Regions from separate parts of the Homo sapiens genome. Here region 1 is linked to region 2. Evidence: promoter capture Hi-C in 16 types of primary human blood cells and fetal thymus (Javierre and others, 2016). All regions are on one chromosome and are shown on one strand. The core of a region is centred on a gene start or on the middle of the fragment in contact, and the rest is flanking DNA. Distances in the headings are between cores, read along the strand shown. Region 1 overlaps ARRDC3-AS1 (ARRDC3 antisense RNA 1). Region 2 holds the start of SRP19 (signal recognition particle 19).

Region 1 (5,631 bases), core at 1,172-3,671, about 21 Mb after region 2:
CTATTAAGTATGAAGAACATAACAAACATAATATGCGTTATGTTTGTAATAGCTCTCAAAGCTAAAAAACAAATACTACTCATTTTGCTAATAATACAGCAAGTCTTCTGTCCAGTCTGCATGCCAAATTTGCTGCACTGTGACGATATTAAAGAGTTAAGTCAGAGTTACAAAATCTTGAAATACAGAATTAAGACCAAAGGAAAAAAATCCCCCTTAGTCCCATAGCACTCGAGCCTATCAGCTGCTAGTTAAAATAGATTAAGCATAGATTTCATATTTTTCTTTATGAAACAGATTCTGACTACTGGTAGGTTTTTTTTTTTTTCAACCAAACACCAAAACTTCCAGTTGAGATGGCTTCCTTTTTTTTTAAAAATAAAAATATTGAGCATGTTGATATAATATGCAAAAAACTCCAAACTTGGCAGTAATCTTAACATATCTCCTCAATATCATACAACTTGACAGCAATGATCATTTATCAGTCTTTGATAGAGTTCTTGAGATTGAGTTCAAACTTTAATATATTAAGGTGAAAGAGCCATTTGACTCAAAAGCTAATATAAAAAGAGATTCCTACTTAAGCTCTGAAGAAGCAATGAAAGGGGAAGGGAAGCTAGTTATTCAGTCTAGTTGGAATTTTACTCAGTAGTGCCAACTGCATCTAGTGGAGGGATTAGAAAAAAGCAAAGGAGATAACATAGTAGTGGGATGTTATTCTGGGCACCAAAAGCACATGTAACTGCATACTGGCAACAGTGAGACAAGCTAACAAAGGGGACAGAAGATGTACTTGACAGGATTATAGAGAGTTAGCAGATGAGTAGGAGGAGATGGCATATGAGACGTAGGCTGGGGAGAAGTAGGAAAGAGCCTTGATGGTAAAGACGAATAGTTTAAATATAATACAAAATACAATAATGGCCCAGTGAAGCAAGCTGAGAAGCCCAAGATAATGTCTACAGTACAGCATTTCAAGCTGTCTAAGGAGTAGCTATTTAGACAAAAAATCTGAAAGGGGGAAGTTATGAAAGCGACAAGAGAAAACATTCAAAATTTGGTCCAAGCGTTTTTGTTTTTGTTTTTGTTTTTAAGAATTGAAAAGATAAAGCGAGACCAGGCGCAAGCGGCTCATGTCTATAGTCCCAGCACTTTGGGAGGCCAAGGCGGGTGGATCTCTTGAGGCTAGGAGTTCAAGACCAGCCTGGCCAACATGGTGAAACCCTGTCTCTACTAAAAATACAAAAAGTAGCCAGAGGTGGTGGTGCGTGCCTGTAATCCCAGCTGCTCCGGAGGCTAAGGCAGGAGAATCGCCTGAACCCGGGAGGCAGAGGCCGCAGAGAGCCTAGATTGTGCCACTGCACTCCAGCCTGGGCAACAGAGTGAGACTCCATCTCAAAAAATAAAAATATAATGAAAATGGCAGCTGGTAAGAATTTCTTGGAAATTTGCCAGTTACCTAAGTATTTAAGAAGACACAGTAAAAAGAAAATTTTAAAAATAGCAAAATAAATAATAAAGACAACTATTCAAAAGATCCTGAAAGCTTCAAACACAAAGAATAATGTACTACACAGTGACAGGAATGAAACATTTAATATTTTAAAACAATTTTCCAAACTACAAATAAATTTCTTAGACTTCTTTTTTATTAAATGCAATTCTGGTGTATTTATATAGCTAATTCTTATTTTTTCTGAAATGAGTTATATTCTAATTAAATAAATTTTACTAAAAAAATCCGAATTCAGCTGTTCACTAACCCTTAATAATTTTTAACATAAATGTAGACACAAATGTGCAATGAATTTATGTATTCATTATGGACTACACTTTTAAATCCATTCCTTGCTCAGTGGTTTTCGAATGCTTATTAAATATCATTGACCTTATGCTGAGGAAAAGCTGTCATTCTAGGAAATTCACCACTTCTACCACTAGGTGGAGAAAAAACACAAGTAGTATCTGTAATCAAAGCTAGTACAAGGCCCCAGGTACTTTACCTAGAATTTCCACCAGGTGTCAACCAAGAGGTAGGGAAAAGATAAGACTGTTTTTCCCACTTAAATATGCAAATTTATAATTTTATGCATAGCGATCTAAACTCTGAAATAAATGGCCTGCTCATTAATTGTCTAGTTTGCATATTTATACTCTTTATATATTGCTGTTGAGTCCAAGATATTGCCTTGTCAACTAAAATCCAACCCCCAAAAGCTTAGTTTCTTTTGAAATAAAACAGCAAGACCAATAAGTTTAGTTTATTGTGACTCATAGGCTCAACCTATCCATATACACTACGCAAAAGAATCTAAAACGTTTAGACACGGACAGCCAAAAATCTTCCAAGGTATTTTTGGTCATACATATATATATAGAGAGAGCACCAGATTCATATTTTTTCTTTCTACATTTCTCTTGTAAGGCAGTTCTGTTGATTGCCAGTAATCTAGATGAGTTTATGCTGTTATGCTCTGAATCCCAGTGTGATGTGACGAAAGCACTGCTATTTTTTACCAAACATTCACAATAAAAAGAGAAATGTACCTATATTTAAGATGTATCATGAGAATTACTACGTTAAATGGTCCAAGGCTCTCGGCCGAAAATTAAAGCTTCACACAGTTAAATCCCTATTTATATACCAAATCATGCTTTTTAAAAACAATTTTATGCGCTTCACTAATTTCTAACAAAGATTTTCCGATTCTGTTGCAAACAATATGTCAGCTAAACCACTATGTCATATGCCTTTTATAAGGTAGTACTTTTTTAGGCCGAACTCTATTCTTATTCCTCTGGACACAGGAGTTGTAATCATGTCTTACTCTGCAAATCTAGCCGTAGGTGGTGTCTTAAAAGGACTTTTTCTTCCTTCGAGGAAGTGATCAAGCTTCCCCCAGCCCCCACCCGTGTCATCCTGGAAACAACTTGGTTGTTTTTCGGTGCTAATTAAGCAATGTAGGAGAAAGAAGTTGAGGAGACAGCAAAGCCTATTGATTACATTGTACTTGCTTCTCTACCTCGCTCTTCAAAGGATTAAGGTTCCTTTGACCTCGACTGAGTTCATTTCCAACCTGCCTACAAAGTACTGGTTTAAAAAAAAAAAATCCAAGCAAAGTATGCTCTTGTCTATGAACAATATTTCTTGTCCGGTTTTATTACGTTTTCTTTGGAAATTCGTTAGATTATGCTCAACAATCGGCCGCTTGCCCAACCGGTTTCTCCCTTCCCCCATCTCTCTTCACACATCACTTTTTCCTCCTCCCATCCAGGCAGTTGGTAAAACGCTGCAGTGCCGGTAACGCACGCTTCGGGCTGGTCGCTGCAGTTTATCCTAACTTGGCTTTGCAAACTCCCCACCCAGCCCTTGTACCCTCGCACCCCACTCTGCCATTATCTTTCTAGTAGAGTGCGCTCGGTAACGGGCTCCAGATAGCACGTCGAGGGTATACGGTAGCCTGCCTACCAATAGGAGCCCACAATGAAGAGAAGTCAGGTTCAGCCGGCCAGCAGCTCCAGTATCTCCTTCCCCTAGCTCTACACCTACTGTACCCGGGAGCGAGCGGGCAAGGGAGCGAGCGCGGCGCGGCGCGGCGCGGGAGGGGGCGCGCAGGGAGGGCGGACAGCAGCCGCGGCCTGCGCCTGCGCACTGGGGTTGTTTTTCACAAAGCTGCTCTTAAAGTGAGCTGGCAGCTTTTAGCCGCCCGTCTTTGTAAGGAGACCACTGAGACGAGCGGGAGCGCGGAGCAGCAGCCTCTGCTGCCCTGACTTTTTAAGAAATCTCAATGAACTATTTGTAGAGAATCACTGATCCGGCCTGCAAGCATTTTGCACGGCAAAAATATCGATCAGTGTTAAGTGAAGATCACATTTTATATGCGATCTTGACTTTTTTGTCTTACATTATATTTTTATAGATTTTGTTATAAACATGGTGCTGGGAAAGGTGAAGAGTTTGACAATAAGCTTTGACTGTCTTAATGACAGCAATGTCCCTGTGTATTCTAGTGGGGATACCGTCTCAGGAAGGGTAAATTTAGAAGTTACTGGGGAAATCAGAGTAAAATCTCTTAAAATTCATGCAAGAGGACATGCGAAAGTACGCTGGACTGAATCTAGAAACGCCGGCTCCAATACTGCCTATACACAGAATTACACTGAAGAAGTAGAGTATTTCAACCATAAAGACATCTTAATTGGGCACGAAAGAGGTAAGTTTTTGTTATTCATAAGTCATTGGACTCATTTTCTTTGGAAACGTACCTTTTCAGTTTTCTGAATTAACGTGATTCTACTCCTAGCATAACTAAGCAGTTTGAGAAAGGTTAGCAAAGTTGGAAGGTTTGGATTCTCCTTGACGTTCATCGTGTGTTAAGCCGTAATGCATGCAGGCATCTGCAAAGTGACTGCAAACTACACTTATTCAGCTACCTCTGTACCCGGCTCGGTCTGTGCCACACGCACTTGTAGTCCATTTGCACCTTACTTATAAATTCTGTTTGAATCCAATTCAGTCGTTTTACTAATATATTTTCAAATGAATTGGTAAAAGCTGCAGTCTTAGATTTTTGCCCTTTTACTTGCAACCTAAGATGTAAAAACTGAACTTCGATCAAGAAATGTAATAACATTTTTAAGAGACTTAATGGGTGTGTTTCATTTTTAATATTGGAATGCAAAAGACTTTAAATAATTGATGACTGTTCTTTCATAAAAGATTTCTGTGGCTTATTTTGACATATGGTATCAACACCCCACGTGTTTTTTCTCTATTCTTTACCATTCCTTTAAAAATTTACACCCAGCATTCCTTATTTTAAAGGAATGACTATCTGTCATTATGATAGGTATCGAGTCAGGTTTAGAAGCCATTTAGGATCAGTAATTTTCTTTTCCGAGCATCATGTCTAACTTTGGAACGTGCATTCAATGAAACCCATGCCAGTCAAATGGAATTGAAAAGTATAGGGCACACTGGATTTGATTTTTGGTTAGAAGAGAGAGATAAAGGGTTGTCAAAAGGAGAAGGAGTCCTGAGATTTCCAATCTATTGTTTAAATGGTTACATTGTGGAAATATAGGAGACTCTAGGCTTGTTTTTCTAAGTTTCCACCCTTTGTTAGAAGCGGTTCAATCCTGTTTCGGACCAGTTCTGGGGGGTGGTGAGGAGGGGCGCTTGTTCTGCTCTCAGCAGATTGGTTACACGCGTCAGGTGGTGGCGATGACTTAATTCCTAGCCCAAGAAGAATATAATGTTAAAACTGGTTATGTAATTTTTGTGCCTCTCCTTTTTAATGCAGTATTTAGTTCAGATGTTGGCGATTTTTCAGAAAAAAAATTAGAGACATATTTTACCTTATTTTTTATATTAAAAACGTACATCCTGGAGAAGTGCTGATGACTAAGGCAAGTGAGAAATGAAGGATGCTTTGAGGGACAGTATTAATGCATTATTTTTGAAACTATTAAGGTGAACTCAGTTCTTTAGCAGGATTTTCGTAGTTAGATACAGGTACTTTGCATCCTGAAATAACTAATTAATCTCTCCAAGTGTTAACACTGATAGGAGATGCAAATGCCTAATGACAGCCTTGGTATTTGTTGAAAAGCAGATAGATGACTTTG
Region 2 (6,065 bases), core at 230-2,729:
TGAATTAATGCCTTTCTGGTTTCACCAACACTGAGGAACGCACCCCAATTCTTGGCTGTGTTCTCAAGCCCTAAATAAATGCAGTGAAGAGAACCCCCTGCGGCTCTAACAAGATTACGTGGCCCGACCAGGATGACACCCCCCATTCCCTCGAGGATCAAGGTGCCAGCCATCTTGCTTACCTTACTTATGGGGATTCGCCTTCCCTCTGCGATGGTCTTCTTATTATTTAAATAAGCAGGATAGATACAAATAAACCTGCCATAGACAATAGCATAAGTGGTATCACTAGAGCAGTAAGAGGCAGGAGAAAAGGGTCGGGTGGCAGGGAACCAAAGGCCAATTCATGCTGCCTAGATATCAGATGGGTACTCCCTTTTCAACCCCTCCTTTTTCTGCGTGGCAGTTGAAAAATCAAAGTACCTCGGAGTGGTCCCCTCGAGCAACTAATCAGACTGGCCGCGGGCCTACTCCTCTTTCTGATTGATCCCCCTCCCTCAACCAATCAGACTGGCACAGGTCAATGGGAAACGTCTAGAGGGTATTTAAACCCTAGAAAATTCTGTAACCAACAGCTCTTGGGTAGCTTGCTGGAGCCGGCTCCCACCCTGTGGAGTGTACTTTTGTTTAAAATAAATCTGCTTTCGCTGCCTTGCTTTGTGTGTTTTGTTCAATTCCTTATTCAAAACGCCAAGAACCTGGACAACTACACTCAACAGATAACAAGTATTTTCAAAAATACATTCTTTCGGTCCGTGGTAGTCGTCATCATTGCTGGTACACCTATGCTATTATTTGCTTAATGTTATTTCTTTAAATTACCTCACTTTAACTTATTTAAAAATAAACTTTATCCACTACCTTGGATGGAAAAAAACCACAGGAATAGAAACAAAACGACTTGGGTAACTGTTACATTAGACAGAGCAGCCCGTCAAAAGTTCCTGAGAATGGGCCCGCCCTCTTATATAAAGTGTCCGAGGTATTAAAAACCTTAAAATTTCACAAATGAGCCTTTCTGAACGCAACAATACTTAAAAAGAACACATTTCTCACACTGTGATTATATTACTTGATATCATGTCCACGTAGCACCCAAAATCCTTGTCTCGCGTACAGATAAACACTAGGCTACCTATGGTCGGAATTTCAGGAGCCCTGAGAAGAGCCTGGTGGCTGCTGCAGGATTCAGAAAAACGAGCTGCCAGGGAGAGGCGCGGGGCCCGTACAGAGCGAGTTGGATCAGCTAGGCCATTCTGGAGGCCGCGGAGCGGAGAAGCGCGGTGTAGCACCTGCAGCACCACAGCAAGCCCCTTCCTTTCGGAGGACCCACCGCCTCAGAACCCACCTGTCCTGGTCGGCCGGGGACCGCGCGGCAGCGCAAGCCATCTTCACAAGAGTCTCAACAACCCAGGAGCCGCAGGGAGAAACCCGGCAGAAACCCGGGAGGAACCCGGCTCTGAGTTTCCGAGACAGCCCGCTTTTCCGCCGGAAGTCCTGCCCAAGAAATGGTTCCGCGTCCGCGATTTCTCATCGCCTGTTTGTTCCGGCACCTGTCGCTCGGCGCCAGGATCTCTAGTCTCTGACGTGGCATGAAGACTTCCCTTCTCGCGAGAGAATCATGAAAGCTTCTCATTCCTTTCCCAAGCCGGGAAGACCATGTGGGGCGCATGCACCGCCACTAAAAAGGGTTTAACTTCGACCCTCCCTCGTTTCCAGTTTCTCAGCGAGTATGGGTGGTACTAGCTACTCTCTGTTAAGGGGCGAAGACTGTGCCACGAGGGGAATCTGTGTGGTTCAGGATGCAAATATATGTTAGACAGGGAAGGAAATACTCCTTACGTTTAATTTTTCTCCGTTCCTGGGCTCTAGAGCTTGCTTTCAGTTTGGCAAAATGGATTTTTGTAGTGGTAGAACTAGCAAAGTTATAGACGTTGTGTTTCAGTGTGCTCTGCGTTAGAAACTTAGCTATTCACCTTTTAGGCCGGGTGCGGTGGCTCACGCCTGTATCCCAGCACTTTGGGAGACTGAGGCAGGTGGATCATGAGGTCAGGAGTTGGAGAGCAGCCTGGCCAACATGCTGAAACCCCGTCTGTACTAAAAATACAAAAATTAGCCGAGTGTGGTGGCACACGCCTGTAATCCCAGCTACTCGGAGGCTGAGACAGGAGAATCACTTGAACCCAGGAGGTGGAGGTTGCAGTGAGCTGAGATCACACCACTGCACTCCAGCCTGCGTAACAGAGCAAGACTCCGTCTAGGAAAAACGAAACAAAACTATTCACCTTTTAAAACTTCTGAAGGATACCATGTGCCATCACTACAGGCATACTTCATTATTGCACTTCACTTGCTGCTGCGAGTAGATACTGCCTTTTTACAAATGGAAGGTTTTTGGCAAATCCGCCTGAAAGAAGTTGCTTGGTGCCATTTTTCCAGCAGCGTATACTTTGTGTCACATTTGGTAATTTTTGCAATATTTCAAACCTTTTCATTATTTCTGTTATGGTGATCGGTGATCAGTGATGTTTGCTGTTACTATTGTAATAGTTTTAAGGCCGGGTGCGGTGGCTCACGCCTGTAATCCCAGCACTTTGGGAGGCCGAGGCAGGTGGATCACGAGGTCAGGAGATAGACACCATCTTGGCCAACATGGTGAAACCCCATCTCTACTAAAATATAAAAAATAAGCCAGGCATGGTGGCACAGGCCTTTAGTCCCAGCTACTCGGGAGGCAGGGGAATCTCTTGAACCCAGGAGGTGGAGGTTGCAGTGAGCCAAGATCACACCACTGCACTCCAGCCTGGCGACAGTGCAAGACTCCGTCTCAAATAATAATAATGTTTTGGGGCACCATGAACCATGCCCAGATAAGATGGGGAACTTAATGGATAAATGTTGTGTATGTTTTAACTGTTCGACCAACTGGCCATTTCCCATCTCTCTCCCTCTTCTGGAGTCCCTATTCCCTGAAACACAACAATGTTGAAATTAGGCCAGTTAGTAACCCTACAATGGCCTCTAAGTATTCAAGTGAAAGGAAGAGTCACACGTCTCACATGTCAAAAGATGGAAATGATTAAGCTTAGTGAGGAAGGCATATGTAAGCCAAGATAGGCTGAAAGCTAGGCCTCTTGGCACCTAACAGCCAAGTTGTAAATACAAAGACAAAATTCTTGAAGGAATTAAAAGGAAATTACTTCAATAAACACACAAATGATCAGAAAGCAAAACAACCTTATTGCTGATATGGAGAAAGTTTTAGGGGTTTGGATAGAAGCTCAAACCAGTCACAACATTCCTTTAACCCAAAGCCTAATCCGAGCAAGGCCCTAACTCCCTTCAATTCTGTGAAGGCTGAGAAAGGTGAGGAAGCTTCAGAAGTGGGAAGCTAGTAGAGGGTGGTTCAGGAGGTTTAAGAAAGAATCCATCTCCATAACATATAACATAAAAGTGCAAGGTGAAGCAGCAAGTGCTGATAGAGAAGCTGCAGCAAGTTATCCAGAAAATGTAGCTAATATCATTGACGATGATCAATGATTAGCTAGTATCATTTAGTGGCTACACTAAACAACAGATTTTTCAATGTAGACAAAACAGTCTTCTATTGGAAAAAGATACCATCTAGGATGTAGCACCCAAAATCCTTGTCCCTTTGAGAGAAGTCAATGTCTGGCTTCAGAGCTGCCCCATTTAGTGGCTACACTAAACAACAGGTTTTTCAATGTAGACAAAACAGCCTTCTATTGGAAAAAGATGCCATCTAGGATGTAGCACCCAAAATCCTTGTCTCTTTGAGAGAAGAAGTCAATGCCTGGCTTCAAAGCTGCCAAGGACAGGCTGATTATCTTGTTAGGGAACAATGCAGTTGGTGATTTTAAGTTAAAGCCAATGGACATTTACCATGCAGAAAATCCTAGAGACCCTAGAATGATGCTAAATCAACTCTGCCTGTGTTCTCTAAATGGAACAACAAAGCCTGGATGACAGTACATCTGTTTACAGCATGGTTTACTGAACTATTTTTTTGAGACAGTCTCGCTCTGTCACCCAGGCTGGCATGCAGTGGCCCTATCACATCTCACTGCAGCCTTGACCTCCCACACTCAAGCAATCCTCCTACACAAGCCTCCTGAGTAGCTGGGACTATGGGCTCATGCCACCATGCCTGGCTGATTTTTATTTTTATTTTTAGTGGAGACAAGGTCTTGCTATGTTGCCCGGGCTGGTCTTGAACTCATGGGGTCAAGCAATCCTCTTGCCTCAGCCTCCCAAAGTACTGGGATTACAGGCGTGAGCCACTGCACCCAGCCTTTACTGAATATTTTTAAGCCCACTGTTGAAAACAACTACTCAGAGAAAAAAAAAAGAGATTCCTTTCAAAATATTACTGCTCATTGACAATGCACCTAGACCTCTAGACATCTAAGTTTCTGATGGAGATCTAGAAGGAGATTAATGTTTTCATGCCTGATAACACATCATCCATTCTGCAGTTTACAGATCAAATAGTAATTTTTATTTTCATCTCTTATTAAGAAATACATTTTGTAAAACTATAGCTGCCAAATAGTGATTCCTCTGATGGATCTGGGCAAGATAAATTGAAAACCTTCTAAAAAAGATTCACTATTCTAGATGGCATTAAGAGCATTTGTGATTCATTGGAGGTTAAAATATGCTGATGCATGAACAGGAATTTGGAAGAAGTTGATTTCAACACTCTGGGATCATTTTGAGGACTTTAAGACATTAGTGGAGGCAATAACTGCAGATGTGGTGGAAATAGCAAGAAAACTAGAATTAGAAGTAGAAACTGAAGATGGGATTGAATTGTTACAATTATGATAAAACTTGAATGATGAGGAGTTGCTTCTTATGAATGGGCAAAGAAAGTGGTTTCTTGAGATGAAAACCACTGGTGAATATGCTGTGATCATTGTTGAAATGACATCAAAGGGTTTAGAATAGCATAAACTTAGTTGATACAGCAGTGGCAGGGTGTGAGAGGACTGACTCCAGTTTTTAAAGAAGTTCTACTATAGGTAAAATACTACCAAACAGCATTACACGCTACAGAGAAATCTATCGTGAAAGGAAGAGTCAGTTGATGTGGCAAAATTCGCTGTTGTCTCATTTTAAGAAATTACCACAACCACTCCAACCTTCAGCAACCATCATCCTGATCAGTCAGCAGACATCAACACTGAGGCAAGACCTTCCACCAGCAAAAAGATTATGATTTTCTGAAGGCCCAGATGGTTGTTAGCATTTTTAGCAATAAAGTATTTTAAATAAGGTATGTACATTATTTTTCTGGATATAATGCTATTTCACACTTAACAGACTACAGTATAATGTAAACATAACTTTTATATGCACTGAGAAATCAAAAAAATTGTATGACTTGCGTTATTATGATATTTGCTTTATTGTGGTGGTCTGGAACCAAACCTGCAACATCTCTGAGGCATGCCTATATATTTTTTGCATAACTTAGATTGATTGCAAAGTAGTATTTCAGCATCTCCATTCAACTAAACCTACCTTCGTTCCTGTTTTAATAATGGATGTTTATTCCACACCTACAAAGACATGCTTCAAAAAGCCAGGCAAAGTGAGATAGGTTTTCTCTTTTACAGATAAAAAAGCAGACAAACTGAAAAACCAAACTCAACCAACAAAAATCTTCATGAAAGTTTGAGTCTCAGTGAGGTTAAATAATTAGCCCATTCATGCTAATAATGGCTGAGCATAGATGCTCCAGTCAGCTAGTCTGACTGGAAGCCCCTGACTTTCCTTCATGTTCTCACTTATGTCTCTCAATCTTCCATGTATTTTTTTTTTTTTAGCACAAAATTAAGTTTGCTCCTGATGTAAATAAATAACGTTTACTTCTTTCTAAAGTGTATATGAGTCCTGTTAAAACAGTGTCATGCAATGACCTAAAATTGAGGAGTACATTTAGAGATGAAATGAATCCAAACTTTAAAATACATAATTTTCTTGCCTTAGGGTACGCATACACATATTAAAAAGTAGAAAATGAATGAGGTAGCCTGAGG

Evidence for each region. Contacts are between HindIII fragments. The CHiCAGO score rates a contact against its expected background, and 5 or more counts as called.
Region 1: a fragment that was not itself captured here is called in contact with the fragment with the promoter of SRP19 in region 2 in 1 of 17 cell types (fetal thymus); the score reaches 8.6 in fetal thymus.

Annotation. Positions count from the first base shown.
Region 1 is chr5:91,381,399-91,387,029 of GRCh38, reverse strand. The region is part of intron 1 of ARRDC3-AS1 (ARRDC3 antisense RNA 1); the gene reads right to left. It overlaps ARRDC3 (arrestin domain containing 3), which reads left to right and starts at 3,713. Exons shown (of 8, transcript NM_020801.4): 1 at 3,713-4,217. The coding sequence starts at 3,938. RefSeq lists enhancers at 2,947-3,246, 3,126-3,643 and a silencer at 3,497-3,806. The HindIII fragment of the contact is 398 bases long and covers 2,223-2,620 here.
Region 2 is chr5:112,856,701-112,862,765 of GRCh38, reverse strand. SRP19 (signal recognition particle 19) reads right to left here and starts at 1,479. Exons shown (of 5, transcript NM_003135.3): 1 at 1,349-1,479; 2 at 183-258. The coding sequence starts at 1,389. RefSeq lists enhancers at 1,182-1,481, 1,582-1,661, 1,420-1,714. The HindIII fragment of the contact is 2,166 bases long and covers 1-1,630 here.